Linked DNA regions of Homo sapiens: region 1 is linked to region 2. Evidence: promoter capture Hi-C in 16 types of primary human blood cells and fetal thymus (Javierre and others, 2016). All regions are on one chromosome and are shown on one strand. Each heading gives the region's core, a stretch centred on a gene start or on the middle of the fragment in contact. The rest is flanking DNA. Distances are from core to core; before and after follow the strand shown. Region 1 holds the start of REDIC1 (regulator of DNA class I crossover intermediates 1). Region 2 holds the start of FLJ13224 (a long non-coding RNA gene).

Region 1 (7,180 bases), core at 4,098-6,597, 8.3 Mb after region 2:
TTCAGCTGGTGTTGGATGGTGGAAATAGCTTCTCTAGGACCTTACTTCATTTTTCAAGAATGCTTTGTCTTTTGCAGGTTTCTGCTTTGTTTGTTTTGTTTAGCTGTAGAGATAATCTACTGGCTACTTCCTATTTCCATTTGGTTATTTGATAAAAACTAAGAGTCTTAAAATTCTTCACATCCATAATGGAGGATTTAAATTGTTCAACAGTCAAGGACAATTCTGCATATTTTTGAAAATGTAAAAAGCTTTTTTTTTTTTTTTTTTTTTTTTTTTTATGAGACAGAGTCTCTCTCTGTCACCCAGGCTGGAGTGCAGTGGCACGATCTCAGCTCACTGCAGCCTCCGCCTCCCAGGTTGGTGCCTCAGCAGCCCGAGTAGCTGGGATTACGAGGGTGCGCCTACCATACTTGGCTAATTTCTGTAGTTTTAGTAGAGATGGGTTTTGCCATGTTTGCCAGGCTGGTCTCAACCTCCTGGCCTCAAGTGATCCACCTGCCTTAGCCTCCCAAAGTGCTCGGATTATAGACGTGGGCCACCACGCCCAGCCAAGAGCATTTTTTAAGTCAGGGCTGAGTATATTTTTGGATATGGAAAAACCATTTTTTTTGCTCTTCACTGTCCCCGCCCCCCATCTCATTAAAATTCTCGGAAATCTCCCTTTCTGCTTGCTCTTCTGCTTGTGGTATCTACTGAAATCTTACAAAAGTGATATATATTCTGAAACTTCTGGGGATTTCTAAGTGACACTGAGTATGCTCAGTAGCTACAGCCAGTTTTGTTCACCAGCAGCTGGCCCCCAACATACATACACATTTCCAGTCAATTAAAAGCTTAGGAAAATATGCATCAAGCTAGAACAGAAGTTGGCAAATTACAACTGGTGGGCCAAATCTAGCCTGCCACTTAATTTTATATGACCCTTAAGCTAGGAATGATTTTTACATTTTTAAAGTGGTTGAAAATACTTCAAAACAAGAATATTTTGTCCTGTGAAAATTATATAAAATTCTCATTTTTGTGTTTATAAATAAAGTTTTATTGGAAAACAGTCACACCCATTCATTTACTCTCTGTCTATGGCTTCTTTCAAGCCACAGTGGTGGATGCAACAAAGACTAAAATATGTACTATTTGGCCCTTTATAGAAGTTTGCAAACCTCTGTGCTAGAATATAAAACCCATCTCAGCATTAAATGATCTTCATTACTGAGTTTATCACAAAGAACTATCCTCACTTTCATAAGTAACCATATTCTTAAAATTTTAAAACTTCTTTCTTATGTACTCATATTAATTCTGACAATCATCACATATCTCTTCATTTGTTTGCATTCAATTCAGCAGACTGACTGACACATGAGTGTCAAACTCATGCAAGTTTTTTTGATAGCTGGCCATATTAGTAGCATAATCCATCATCCCATTAAGACTTTTTAAGCCTGTATGTACAGATAATAGTGGTCATGGAAGTTATTGCCAAAATCTTTTATTCCTAAGCTCTTGCTTTTGTTGTATGCAAGATAAGGTTGCCTTTCATTTATGTCACATCTCCTAACAGCTACACACAAAAGGGTTAGCAGTGACAGGACAGGTTAAAGGCCAGAGTAAACCTAACTGGGGGTGATGGCAGGATGTTGTTAGGCAGAACATGGTACACAGAAGGATGCAGACAGCAGCTGGCAGTCGAGGCAAGTGGTTTGCAATACATACAACCAGAGACAGCCATATTAGGGGAGGAGCATGGCAGTGAGAACTCTAGAAGCAAAGGACACTAGAGATTCAAATAGGACTTAGCTGGAGGTAGGTCAGTTTACCAACTGATAATGAGGTTATAGTGCAGGAACAAGCTTTCAGCATCTGGAGTGAGAGACTTGTGAGAATGAAGAATTATTTATGAGGAAAATGATCAAGACAGAAATTTTGTTACCTGAATCGTGGTACAAGGAAGGTTGAAAGTGAGTTACTTGAAGTGTGGAAAATGTCAACGTGAAATTTGATTTGATATTGAGCCACTTAGGTGAAGACCTAACTCTAACCACTTAAATTTCACTCCCACCATTCACCTCTCCCTGCTCTCAAGGGTAAGAGTTGGTCCTAGTGTCTGAGACTAGACACAAGCCTTCAGATAAGGCAGAGGAAGGATTCAAGAAGACAGGAAGCCATATGGACAATTAGGTCAATAATATATGGCATTTAAGTAAAAAACTAAGAATGTCAAGGTACTTCTTTCAGTTTTTTCTTTTTCTTTTCTTTCTTTCTTTCTTTTTTTGAGGGGGATGGAGCCTCACTCTGTTGCCCAGGCTGGAGTGCAATGGCACAATCTAGGCTCACTGCCACCTCTGCCTCCCAGGTTCAAGTGATTCTCCTGCCTCAGTCTCTCAAGTAGCTGGGACTGCAGGTGCCCACCACCACGCCCAGCTAATTTTTGTATTTTTAGTAGAGATGAGGTTTTGCTACGTTGGTCAGGCTGGTCTCGAACTCCTGACCTCAGGTGATCCACCCCCGTCGGCCTCCCAAAGTGCTGGGATCACAGGCGTGAGCCACCGCGCCCGGCCTTCTTTCAGTTTTTTTCTATTGACAGTATGCAATTAAAGCTAAGAGACTGTTAATTTAGTTTGAATTCCAAACTAGGAAAGAGGAGAAAAAAATCTTTGTTACTGTAGTAAAAAACATACTTAGGCCTAATTTCCACACAAACGTCTCAACTTCAAGTGTGTTTATATGGGAGATTATTAAAATTTTCTTAAGAGGGGAGAAATCTTCTTAGAAAAGATCTTGAGAAACAATGAGAATAATTTTTAAAATCAATAATTCTCAAATCACTGTGCTCTCAAGTGTGATATTCTCATGTACCCTACCAATATCCATGAAAGAAATGAATTAAATGGAGTTTATATATATAGAATACAAATTAGAGACTATATATGTTTTATGAACTGTAAAACATCAGAAATTTTTTTGTAATAAAGAGAATTATATATATGTATATACATAAATGTATGTATAATGTATATTGTATATGTGTTGCATGTTCAGATTATGAATATCCAGAAAGTAAATAATTTTTAGAAATAGGTAAAGATAAATTGTTTAAGGTTTGAGAATTTCGAATGGATTTCCTTTTCAACAAATGCTTAATAGTATTTCATCTGTGCTGTATTGCTTTCTTGAACTGTTTCCTGACCCAAGAGATTACCTAATTGCTCTACTGGCCCTAAAATAGCACAGCATTGGACTCTCTTATTATCTATCAGTCATGCTAGTCTTACTCATGGAGGCATAAACAGCACTGAAAATGAGATTTTAGGTCAACATTTCAGCTATTACACATAACTACCTAATACCTAGTTCATAAGGAAATGTCTTTTTCTGTGAAGGAAAACCCAGTAAATATCTTGTCTGAACATGTATCTCATAGGTTAATCTTTCCTTAGCCTAATTCACTGCCTCCCTGTGACTGGAAGGAAAGAAGTGACTCTAGTAAGGGGGAAGAGATGGCCCATCCAGCTCTCAGTTCTTATTAAAATTTTTATGTATTTTTCTTTTTAATTTTAATGGGTATATAGTAGGTGAATATGTTTATGGGGTACATGAAATATTTTGATACAGGCATAAGATGTATAATAATCTTTCAAGGTAAATGAAGTATCCATCACTTCAGGCATTTATTATTTCTTTGTGTTATAAACATTCCAATTATTCTCTTTTGGTTAGTTTAAAATGTATAATAAATGTTAACTGTAATCATCCTGTTGTGCTATCAAAACTAGATGTTATTCATTCTATCTAAATATATTTTTCTACCCATTAACCATTCCCACTTCCCCATCCCCCACTGCCAGCCTCTGGTAACCATCACTCTAGTCTCTATCTCCGTTAGTTCAATTGTTTTAATTTTTGGCTCCCACAAATGGAGTGCCAGCTCTTAGTTCTTTACCCAACAACTTGGTCAACCTCTCCTTATGTCCCTTTACTCACAATAAAGAAAAAAAGAGTTAATCCCTTAGCAAATTATTTCCCCTTTCAGTTAATTTAGTCAATATGTTTTAAAATGTTGAAAGTAGGAAAGGCTGATACACAGGGCCATTGCTTCTTCCTTGCCTGTATGGTTTTGTTACTGAAAAAACAACTCCATGTCAAAGTCTGATATTCTCGGAAATGCTGAATTCACTTGGTCTAATTCAATTTTAGATACACCTTGGTGAATTTTGTCATAAAAAACAGGATTTTTGTGATTAAACAAGATATCTACCCTGGGACATAATCCTATTCTAAGTACTATTTTCCAATGACTTAACAAAAAATCGATTATTATATATCAAATTGTGAAATCTTCCCCAGGTTATGTTCTGGAAAAAAACATGGCAATTTAAAAAAATGTAATTTGTGCATGTATTTGGAAGAAGAGATGCCTAGTTTCTAACCAAAATAATATAGGACAGTTTGTAAGATAATTGTTTTGTAAGGATATACAAACTTAATACAGAAACAAATAGCATAATTCAATTTTTGTTTTGAGATTTTTTTTTCAGTAAGGATTTTAACATCTTTGGACTTTTACATCTAATTAAGTTTTGATCAAGCTCTTTTTTTTCCTTTCTTTCTTTTTTTTTTTTTTTTTAAGAGACAGAGTCTGCTCTGTCGCCCAGGCTGGAGTCTCTCGACTCACTGCAACCTCTGCCCTCCTGGGTTGAAGCAATTCTCCTGCCTCAGCCTCCTGAATAACTGGGGCTACAGGCGCGTCCCACCACGTCCCACTAATTTTTTGTATTTTTAGTAGAAACGGAGTTTCACCGTGTTAGCCAGGATGGTCTTGATCTGCTGACCTCGTGATCTGCCCACCTTGGCCTCCCAAAGTGCTGGGATTATAGGCGTGAGCCACTGCGCCCGGCCTGATTTAAGCTCTCTTAGCAACTCAATGCACAGAATGGTAACTTACTACAGCGCTATGTTTCTTATAAACACCTGTTTACGGAGTATTAAAACTGCACATGAAGGATATTTAAGGAATTTGGGTATGGGGTAATAAATGGGAAGGGAAACATCATTTTTAGGGTTAGCGATCCTTAACTGTGTCCTTGCCTTCTTTTTCTTTCTCAAGTCTGGTCTCTGACTCGAAAAAGACGTCAAAGACCTGTCAGAACTAGATAAAATTATGATGGAGGTGTTTTGAAACACTAATCCTGTGGCCCCTGTCAAAAATTTAGGCTTTCATTTATTTAGGCCTGCCTTGCCTCAGCGATTAAAACGATGTCAGCCAGGTCGGCTGCTTTGCCGCAGCGTCCCCTTGCGGCCCTATCAGGACCGGAAGGAACACGCAGAAGCCGCAGAGGCTGTTGGGAGGTTGGGCCTCAGGCGGTGGACCAGAAGGAGCTTACTCGGGCCCTGACGTTGTCAGGAGGCCCTGGGGGATCCTGCTGAAGCTGCGATTTGGCGCAGAGCTGAGATGTCTGAGCTCTAGACACAGGGACCTCAGTGTCAAAAGATTTGGGAAGATGAATTGGGTCGGGGGGTCCCGGTAAGTTGTGCAGCTGGAGTTTGAGGCTGGGACATTCATTCCTACGACTCCTCTTTCTAGTTCCTGGCGGAGAGGTCACAGCCTTAGCTGGAAAGAACTTGGTAGGAAAGGGTCTTTTTATTGTTATCCAAATCGGGTTGGAGACTCTAGAACCATATCTCTACTCCTCAGACAAAAGTAACTCAGCTTCTCCCCACTCACTGCCTTTACAAAGGCTTCACCTGTGGGGGCCACTGTGAGTAACCTTCCCTGCTGCCCCTCCTCCCCTTCTCCATGTCCTATGCTCTGTTACTGTAATGAGGCCTTTTAGCACCTGAGCCCTCCCCTACTGCCTTCTTTCCGTGTCTACACCTCTTTTAGGTTCTTCTGAGTTGATATATAGTCTTTGCATGAATTTGGAAATTGTGAAACAGCCCAGTCCCAGCTGCACTTAAATCAATGGCAGGGCACCAGTATCACCATAAATCCAAATTGTAGTTTGTATTTTAAGGGGAAGTAAAGTGAACCGTTTTTACTTGAATAACTTGAGCGAATTTGCCATTTATTTTGTATTTAGGATTGATCACATAAAGCGTGATAGATTGAAAATTTAGTGTTATATAACCTATTCATTGTTATTGACCTTAAAGTCCAGCTGGGTGGAAATCATGTGGGCCTGTAATTTCATTTGATCAAAATTCTTGATGAGAAGAATTGTTTTGATTGAAACAAGAAGCCATTACATGTAATTTTTTTGTCACAAGTAGACCCAGGACAGTAATTATATGTTAGATTATAATGCGTTTGAATTCTAAAGAATTTATCGGAGGAAAGACAGCTTTTGTATTCACTAAGTATTGTAGCTATGCCTGATAATTTTAGCATGCACTTTTATCCTGTTGAATATGCTAGCATTGTATTTTAGAAATTTACCTGAATTACTTCTGGCTAGTGTTCTGGCAGCAGACGTACTCTGGAGAAAAGTGAAAATTTACTTACAGGCTTCAACAGGATTTAGTTGATACATGCTTATAATGTGATCTTTTTGAATTTAGTATTCTTTAAAATATTAAATAGGATTATATGAAATAATTTTACAAATGCTTAGCACTATTAAAATGTAGATGTTGCTATTATTCTGTCATATATCACAAACTTTTATGGCTATTTTGGGAGTAATATTTTAGTTGCTACTGGGAGGATGCAAAAACAATATACTGCAGGAAACATGTAACCTAGGATTGTGTTTCTGAAAATGAGGTGTACTGCAGCACCTGGAGGTGCAGCATCTGGAGATATTAGGTACCAGGGGGTTTAAGAAACATGGTTACATCTCCCCGAAGGATCAGTTTTAATCAGAGATTAGGAGAAAATATGTGTTTAAATTTATACAAACGTCGAAGTCAAAATAAAATGTAGAGACAAATCTCTAAATTTAACGTTTTATTTGGAAATGGCAGAATTGCAATTCAGGGCATACACAAAGTATGTCTTTGGTATGTCTGAAGAACAAAGAAAAGGGTGGGGATTTTACAAAAAAAGAGAAATGTTACATATGGTTTTGAAAGAAAGTTCATTGACAGTAGTGAAGTTGTGAGAAGCTGGCAAGCTTTGACTGGTGGGTGATGGTGGTAGTTAAAATGACCTCCTGGAAGGTCATTTTAGTAGTTATTTGGT
Region 2 (6,707 bases), core at 3,832-6,331:
AAAATAATGACAGGCCGGGCACAGTGGCTCACGCCTGTAATCCCAGCACTATGGGAGGCAGAGGCAGGTGGATCACCTGGTCAGGAGTTCGAGACCAGTCTGGCTAACATGGTGAAACACCGTTTCTACTAAAAATACAAAAAATTAGCCCAGCCTGGTGGCGTGCGCCTGTAATCCCAGCTACTCAGGAGGCTGAGGCAGGAGAATTGCCTGAACCCAGAGGCAGAGGTTGCAGTGAGCCAAGATCGCACCACTGAACTCCAGTTTAGGCAACAAGAGCAAAGCTCAGTCTCAAAATAATAATGACAAATCCAAATCTCCTGAATAGTATCTGTAAAGCATCAACACAACATCAACACAAAGATCGGCACAAGGTATGCACTCAGCTCTGACAATTCTTTTTACTCACCAATCTTTCTTCTTTCTCTCTTTTTTTCCTCTTACATTTCAGGTATCATTTTGCTTTCTGTCTTTGGGCAATCCACTCGCAGGAAGTTACTAACCAACCTTATTGGTAATACCTATTATTCATTCCCTGGTCCAATCTCTCCCCTTAGCTCTAGGATAAATATGGCCAACTGACCACCAATCCATTCCAATCTTTAAATACCCTGAGAATTGATTATATAATCTTCCCTCCAAATCTGCTCTTCCTCTATTTACCTATCTTGGTTGTCATCCACAGTCACACAAAAACAACTTGGAAGCCAACTGAGCTCTTCCTTCACCCTCTGCATGGCCCTCCATCAAATTTATTGTGAAGTCCTTAGAAATTCTGTTTCTTCCTTCACTTCCATCCCCACTGCCTGTTTGTTCCTCATCATGGTGCATGAACTCCTGTCAGAACCTTGTAACTGACTTCCCTACATCCTTTAAACATGTGATATCTTCCTAAAGTTCAACTACTAATCTTCCCTTCCAAGGTACCAACACTGGCTTCATGATAGTATCTAAACTCCTTGGCAAGGAATTCAAAGCTTTTCAGGATCTGCTCCTGCCTACCAGCTGCTCCCAACTTGGAATTCTGATATTCTAGGAGTGTCAAACAAACTTTAATAACTAGCCACCCTCTACTCAGGCTGTTATTTCTGCCTGAGACGGCTTACCCTCTATCCCCTTGACCTGGGAAATTCTCTTAAGAATTACTTATTTTACAAAACCCTTCCATACCTTTATTAGAACACCTACCACATAAGATTTCACTTCTTGTTTACTGCATTATCTCCTCTACTCAATAGTAAACCGCTGTAGAGCAGAAACTAAGTCTTGTATTACAACCAGGTGCTGGCTGTACATAGTACACAGAAACGGGTAGAATTTGCTAACTACTCAAAGAGTGGGGCAGCCAAGATTAATATAAACAGTATATTTAAGGGCATGGAATGGGAAATGGTGTCTACAATAAAGACGTGAATTTTAAAAACTAATGTTTTGAAAGGAGTCATTGTTTGCACTATTGATCATAGAAATATTTTTAATGTTTTTAAAAAGGAGTCTTTTTTTAACATTTGGTCTATAGACTTTTGCAGGAAAAAAAACCTGAGGTTTTAAAAGCTATAGGAAAAAATGTTTCTTGCTTATTTCAAGCAGGAGCAGGGGGAAGGAAATTAGACTAGTGTGGGGAGAAATGAGAAATGAGAGCTACTTCAACTCAGCACAGTTAACATTTACCAAATTAAAATAACAGTAAGCCAAACCAAACTTATAATAGGTGGAAAACAACTAAATACAAAGCTAGAAATAAATTCTTTTAGTTCAACTGTAACTTTCATACTTGAATATGTAACAGCGGTGTACCTGTGACATTAGTATTTCTGAGGCAAAGAGAAAACCTCCCTACCTTGAAAACAAACTCCCTTTTTGGACTAGATGACATTTCCAGATTATTTCCATAATACAGAAAAATCCTAGTTGCAGATTCAATAAAAAACTGGAGAAACAAAAGACAACAAAAAAGTCTCAATTTATAACACCCCAAAATCAAAACTTAAGTGTGGGAAATACAAGACAATCTTGTGGACAAGAGAAATCAGGAAGAAAGAAAAATGACATTTTCCAGGTTTCCGCAGGACTTTCTGATGTAAAATGGTTGAATCAGAATTGAAAAGACAACCAAGAGTCAAGGGCAGTGTCTTCCCAGAACTGCTTTCTTAAGGTAAGGGAGGGGACCAAAGACACTCATTCTTTCCACTAAAAATTTACTTAATGTTTCCCCAGAAACGATAACTGACACAGGCCTCAGTTTTATCTTCTGTAAAATGTCTACTTCCCAGTGTTGTGAGGACAACACAGCTAATATTTATCAATCATGTCACTGGCTTAATTACAACTTATTTAAAATAGGTATTACTACCATTTTACAGATGAAAAAAACTGGATCACAAAGTGACTATAAGATGATGACAGCTTTGAAACCCAAGCATTACTAACCCAGAAACCTCTGAACAGCAAAACTTCGTGCCTCAATACATGTGTTCCTTTTCTGCTCAACCAATTATATTCCTACCATCTCTTAAGAAAAAACGAAAATGACATACTTTTAAAGCAACCTACTATGTGCCTGGCATGGTAAATTGATTAATTTATCCTCATAAGAGCCCTGTATAGTTGGTTTAGATTTAAAAGTTTATGCTTTCCCCAGTGAAAAACTTTTATTTTACATGTAAAATGGTTCTTAAATTGCTTCTCTGACATAAATATGTCTGAGTTTGAGCCCTATGAGTCAGGATTTCCCAGGACTTGATAACCACTCTGGGGGAAAAAAAAAAAAATTGACCATTCAGGTTCCAGATATACAGAATTAAGAATACTGTGCAAGGACAGACAGACTTGGGGCCTGCTGTCCACCAGTGATCTAGAATATTCTACCAATTGAACTTCGTATCTCCAACCTCCCACAAAAGCAATACAAAGAGAAGGCAGTAGAGACCTTGTCTGTGGGTCTTTCCCACCCTGAATTCATTCACATTGATAATCCAAATCTCTGTTTTACATCATCTAATTAGTAAAACAAAAACCATTAAGCTCTGTATGTAGTATATGAAATCTGCTAGGAAATGGAAATTCTAGCCATAACTTAGCTATGAAATACTAATTAAGAAAAACAACTCAAACAATCTCAGCGTATTTGCAAAGCACCTCATATGCATTTTAAATACAGGACCCAGAGAAATAGCTGCGAAAGGAAAGCCAAAGTTATTAAATCCAAAGTTTTTCATTTTCTTGACATGCTCTTTCTATTTAATACAGAAATGTACTAATATAGGTTGCCTTTTGGTATTGTAATTTGGTCAACCAAAACTTGGGAAAAATAGGTCCAAAGTTTTTCATTTTCCTGACATGCTCTTTCTATTTACTACAGAAATGTACTAATATAGGTTGCCTTTTGGTATTGTAATTTGGTCAACCAAAACTTGGGAAAAATAGGTTTATTAATAACAAAATAATGAAAAAAAATGGATTTCAACTAGTATCGATTTTTAGGTGTGTGGGGGCAGGGGCATTCAAGGGTATTATTTCCTAGTAATGATCACTTAGATTCTAGGCCTTACACATGATTCAAATGCAGGAGAAATCAGGAAAGAAGCAACAGATATGGTGGTGGGTATCGGATGTCTAGACTACAGGCAAACCCCAAATACCAAAGAAGCATCCATGTGTCAAACCAGCATAATTTTTGAGCTATGCCTGGGGCCACATACAAAAAAAGAAAAGGTTAGCTTGAAAAGAAAAATCTAGGAGAGGTAACCAGAAGGTCAACCACAGTTCACGGGATCTGGGAAGAAGCTAGCCGTTACCCTGTGTCATCTTCCTGAGCAGCTTCCTCCCCAGCCAGCTCCCCAGCCTCCTTACAATGTTTCCAAAAGGCCCAACTCCCTAAACATTTGCTTCTTCAAGGTCATCCTAAGGCACTGAATAACCACCAAACACTGAGTCACGCATACCTTTCGCCTAAAAAAGATCCCCCTTCCCAAAATCATTATATAAATACTTTAAATGCCATGAGGGTTTTCTCCGAAACTCCACCAGAAACAAACTCCCAGACTTTTAGATTGGGCAACTAAATGTGTTCAATTTTGCGACATAAAATTTTAAAAGGCTTTTCAAGTCTGGCAAATTCCAGTTCAAAAACAGGTGCTTTCAGCGTACTCTGAATAACAAGGTCAAATTCATTTTTAAATTATTAAAAGAAAAAGAAAAGCTTTTCTTAACCCTCCTTAGGACAACTTAAGAAGGGGGAGAAAGAATTGCTGGGGTAAAACTGTCTCGGATAGGGTCCCTGTTTAACTCAAGAGTAAATCCTAATCTTCCGAGTGCCTGAAGTAATGGAAGGTTACAGGAAGAAAATAAAAACAAAGAAACTGACTAGGGTCATAGTTACCAGAACAAACTGCACCGCCCTACCACCTCAAGAAACCAACTCCCCCTACACCAAAACAAACCTTGCCCTTCCCCGCTCCCCCCACCCCCTAGAAACACACAAAGAAACTGGCCGCACGCACAATTCGCCCACAGTCCTCACTTCCCTTAGTAGGGCAACAGGGAGCCCCGGAACTTCCCCACGGTGGTTTATCGGGCGTCGTCGGGGCTGGGTCCCCTGGACTTGCGGGCCACAGCTCGGCTGGGGAGGAGGTGCTCGCCGCCCTCACCCGTTTCTCTGAAAGCAGTAAAATGCCTCCCCGCTCCTCCCAGGGCCCTCGGGTCCCCACCTTCCGTAAATCGTGCTTCCCCCTCGGGCACTCCGGTGACTGCCGAGAGAGACGCCGAGCCAGCAAGTAAGAATGCTCCCTGGTGGATTTGTTGGTAAATAAGACATCTCGCGTCGGGAGGAAAGTTCCTGCGGGGGCCGCTCGCCGGGGCGAGGGCGAGGGCAGCGGGAGGTGAACCGCGTCGCTCGCCGCCACCTCCCTCACCTGCGCCGGAACAACGGGCCCCGCGCCAGCCCGGCCCGGCGCCTCCCGCAGGCCGCGCCTCCCGCACGCCGCGCTGCCGGGGCTTGTTCCTCCTCATGGCTTTGCCCTGACGTAATTCAAACATGGCAACAGTTCGACTTCAAAGGCGAACCCACAGACCTCCCAGACACAGGCTCCCGGGCCACGAGAAACCGGCCGAGCAGTCCGGGCCAAGCTCCCCGGAACCCTCGGCCGTCGCAACCCCCGACGCCAGGGCTGAAGCGCCGGGCACTGCCGCCTCCCTCGGTCGCCCGCCCGCACGCCCGGAGCGGGGAAGCACGCCGCCTCCCTACGCACCAGCATGGCACCTCGCACAAGTAGCGCCGCCAAAGTTTCCCCACGAGGGGGCTGAGGGACAAAAGCCCCTCCCGAAACTCGCCCGAACTTCGAGGGCCTCCGACCTGCACGGCCCTACGCCCAGGCGGCGGCCCCGAGCGCCGGGGGCCCGCACGGGCACATGCAGCCCTTTGTTTTCTGTCCAGCCGGGCGCTGCCTACGTGCAGCATCAGGGATGTCGGAGCGTTTCGCAGGGGCCGGACACTGGACGATCACCCTGGGTAGGGGTCCGGACCCCGCGCCCCGAAGAGTCCGGAGCCTGGCCCCCCGACCCTCCCCTCGGGAGCAGGCCCATTTAATCAAAGTTTTGCAGTGTCCTTGATGAGAAACGCCCGGAGTATCCGCCCCGCACGGGCGGAGAGTTGGCGACTTTCACTCTGCTTTTTAAACTGGCAAGACGCCATCATCAGCAAACCACATTGTCCTGCCGGCCGGACCTGCCCGACGGCGGCCGCATCCCACGGCTCACGCGGGGCTGGACATTCGGACAAGGACCAGGGTCGCAGCCCGAAGCACGTGGTCTGTCACGTAGAGCACAAAAAGCAGTGCCCTGCGGAGTTCACTGACTCCCGCGGCGTACACAACGCCGCCGCCTCCATCTCCAGCCAAGTTGGCTTCCCTGGCCATCTTACAGCGCGGACGGCCGCCCATAAACGGGAAGCCCTCGCGGTGTCGCCCACACCTACGCTACAGGTGAACGCACCGGGAGCAAAACTTCGGGCTCCGAAAGCACCCCGGACACCAGAGGCTCTTGGGCGCGGTCCGAAGAGGGCAGGCGAGTGGAAGACGGGCTGTTTTTAAGCGACCGCGTGTTGCTCTCATTGTCGCATCCGCATCCCTCCGGAGTTGAGCAAACAACGCCACGCCGCGTGCGCTCCGGCAGAGCCCAGCACTGACCCCCAAAGGCCGATTTAAAGACCCTCGGCCGCCAGCTCGGAAGCGGATGGCAACTTAGTTTCCGAGCGAATGGCGTTTATTGTCCACCCTAGTCCGAGGGCTGCAGTCAACTAAACCACGAGGTTTCACAACGGCGCCCGACCCTGCCCGCGCCTCGCGCCCACGCGGACGCACCGACCCCGGCCGCTGCGCGGTGGCCAACGAGTCGCTTTCCTCTCGGGCCTTTCGGCCGCCGGGCTCCTTTCCGCGAGAGAACACTGCGGCGGAGAAAAGTCATTGTCACCTTCAACGTGGATCCCTCAACTCCGGCGACTCCTCAATTATGCCCAGGCTCCACTCACTTCCCCGCCCCGAGACTTTCGGTTTGCCTCAAATACCCTCCCCAATTAATAAATACACACTAAACACGAGCGTACCAAAGAACCTGGGGTCTGAAGATCACGAAAACAGCGCTCCCAACAATGCCACCTCCAAGACAAAACTTCCTGTGTGTATGTGGAAGGACGGGGGGAGGTGGGTGGA

What was found. Contacts are between HindIII fragments. The CHiCAGO score rates a contact against its expected background, and 5 or more counts as called.
Region 1: a contact is called between the fragment with the promoter of REDIC1 here and the fragment with the promoter of FLJ13224 in region 2, in 3 of 17 cell types (naive CD4 T cells, naive CD8 T cells and non-activated CD4 T cells). The highest score is 6.1, in naive CD4 T cells.

The regions. Positions count from the first base shown.
Region 1 is chr12:39,620,836-39,628,015 of GRCh38, forward strand. REDIC1 (regulator of DNA class I crossover intermediates 1) reads left to right here and starts at 5,348. Exons shown (of 13, transcript NM_001031748.4): 1 at 5,348-5,524. The coding sequence starts at 5,502. RefSeq lists an enhancer at 509-588. The HindIII fragment of the contact is 5,259 bases long and covers 1,852-7,110 here.
Region 2 is chr12:31,319,235-31,325,941 of GRCh38, forward strand. It overlaps FLJ13224 (a long non-coding RNA gene), which reads left to right and starts at 5,082. Exons shown (of 1, transcript NR_026806.1): 1 at 5,082-6,707. The region is part of intron 1 of SINHCAF (SIN3-HDAC complex associated factor); the gene reads right to left. RefSeq lists an enhancer at 6,005-6,707. The HindIII fragment of the contact is 3,270 bases long and covers 4,200-6,707 here.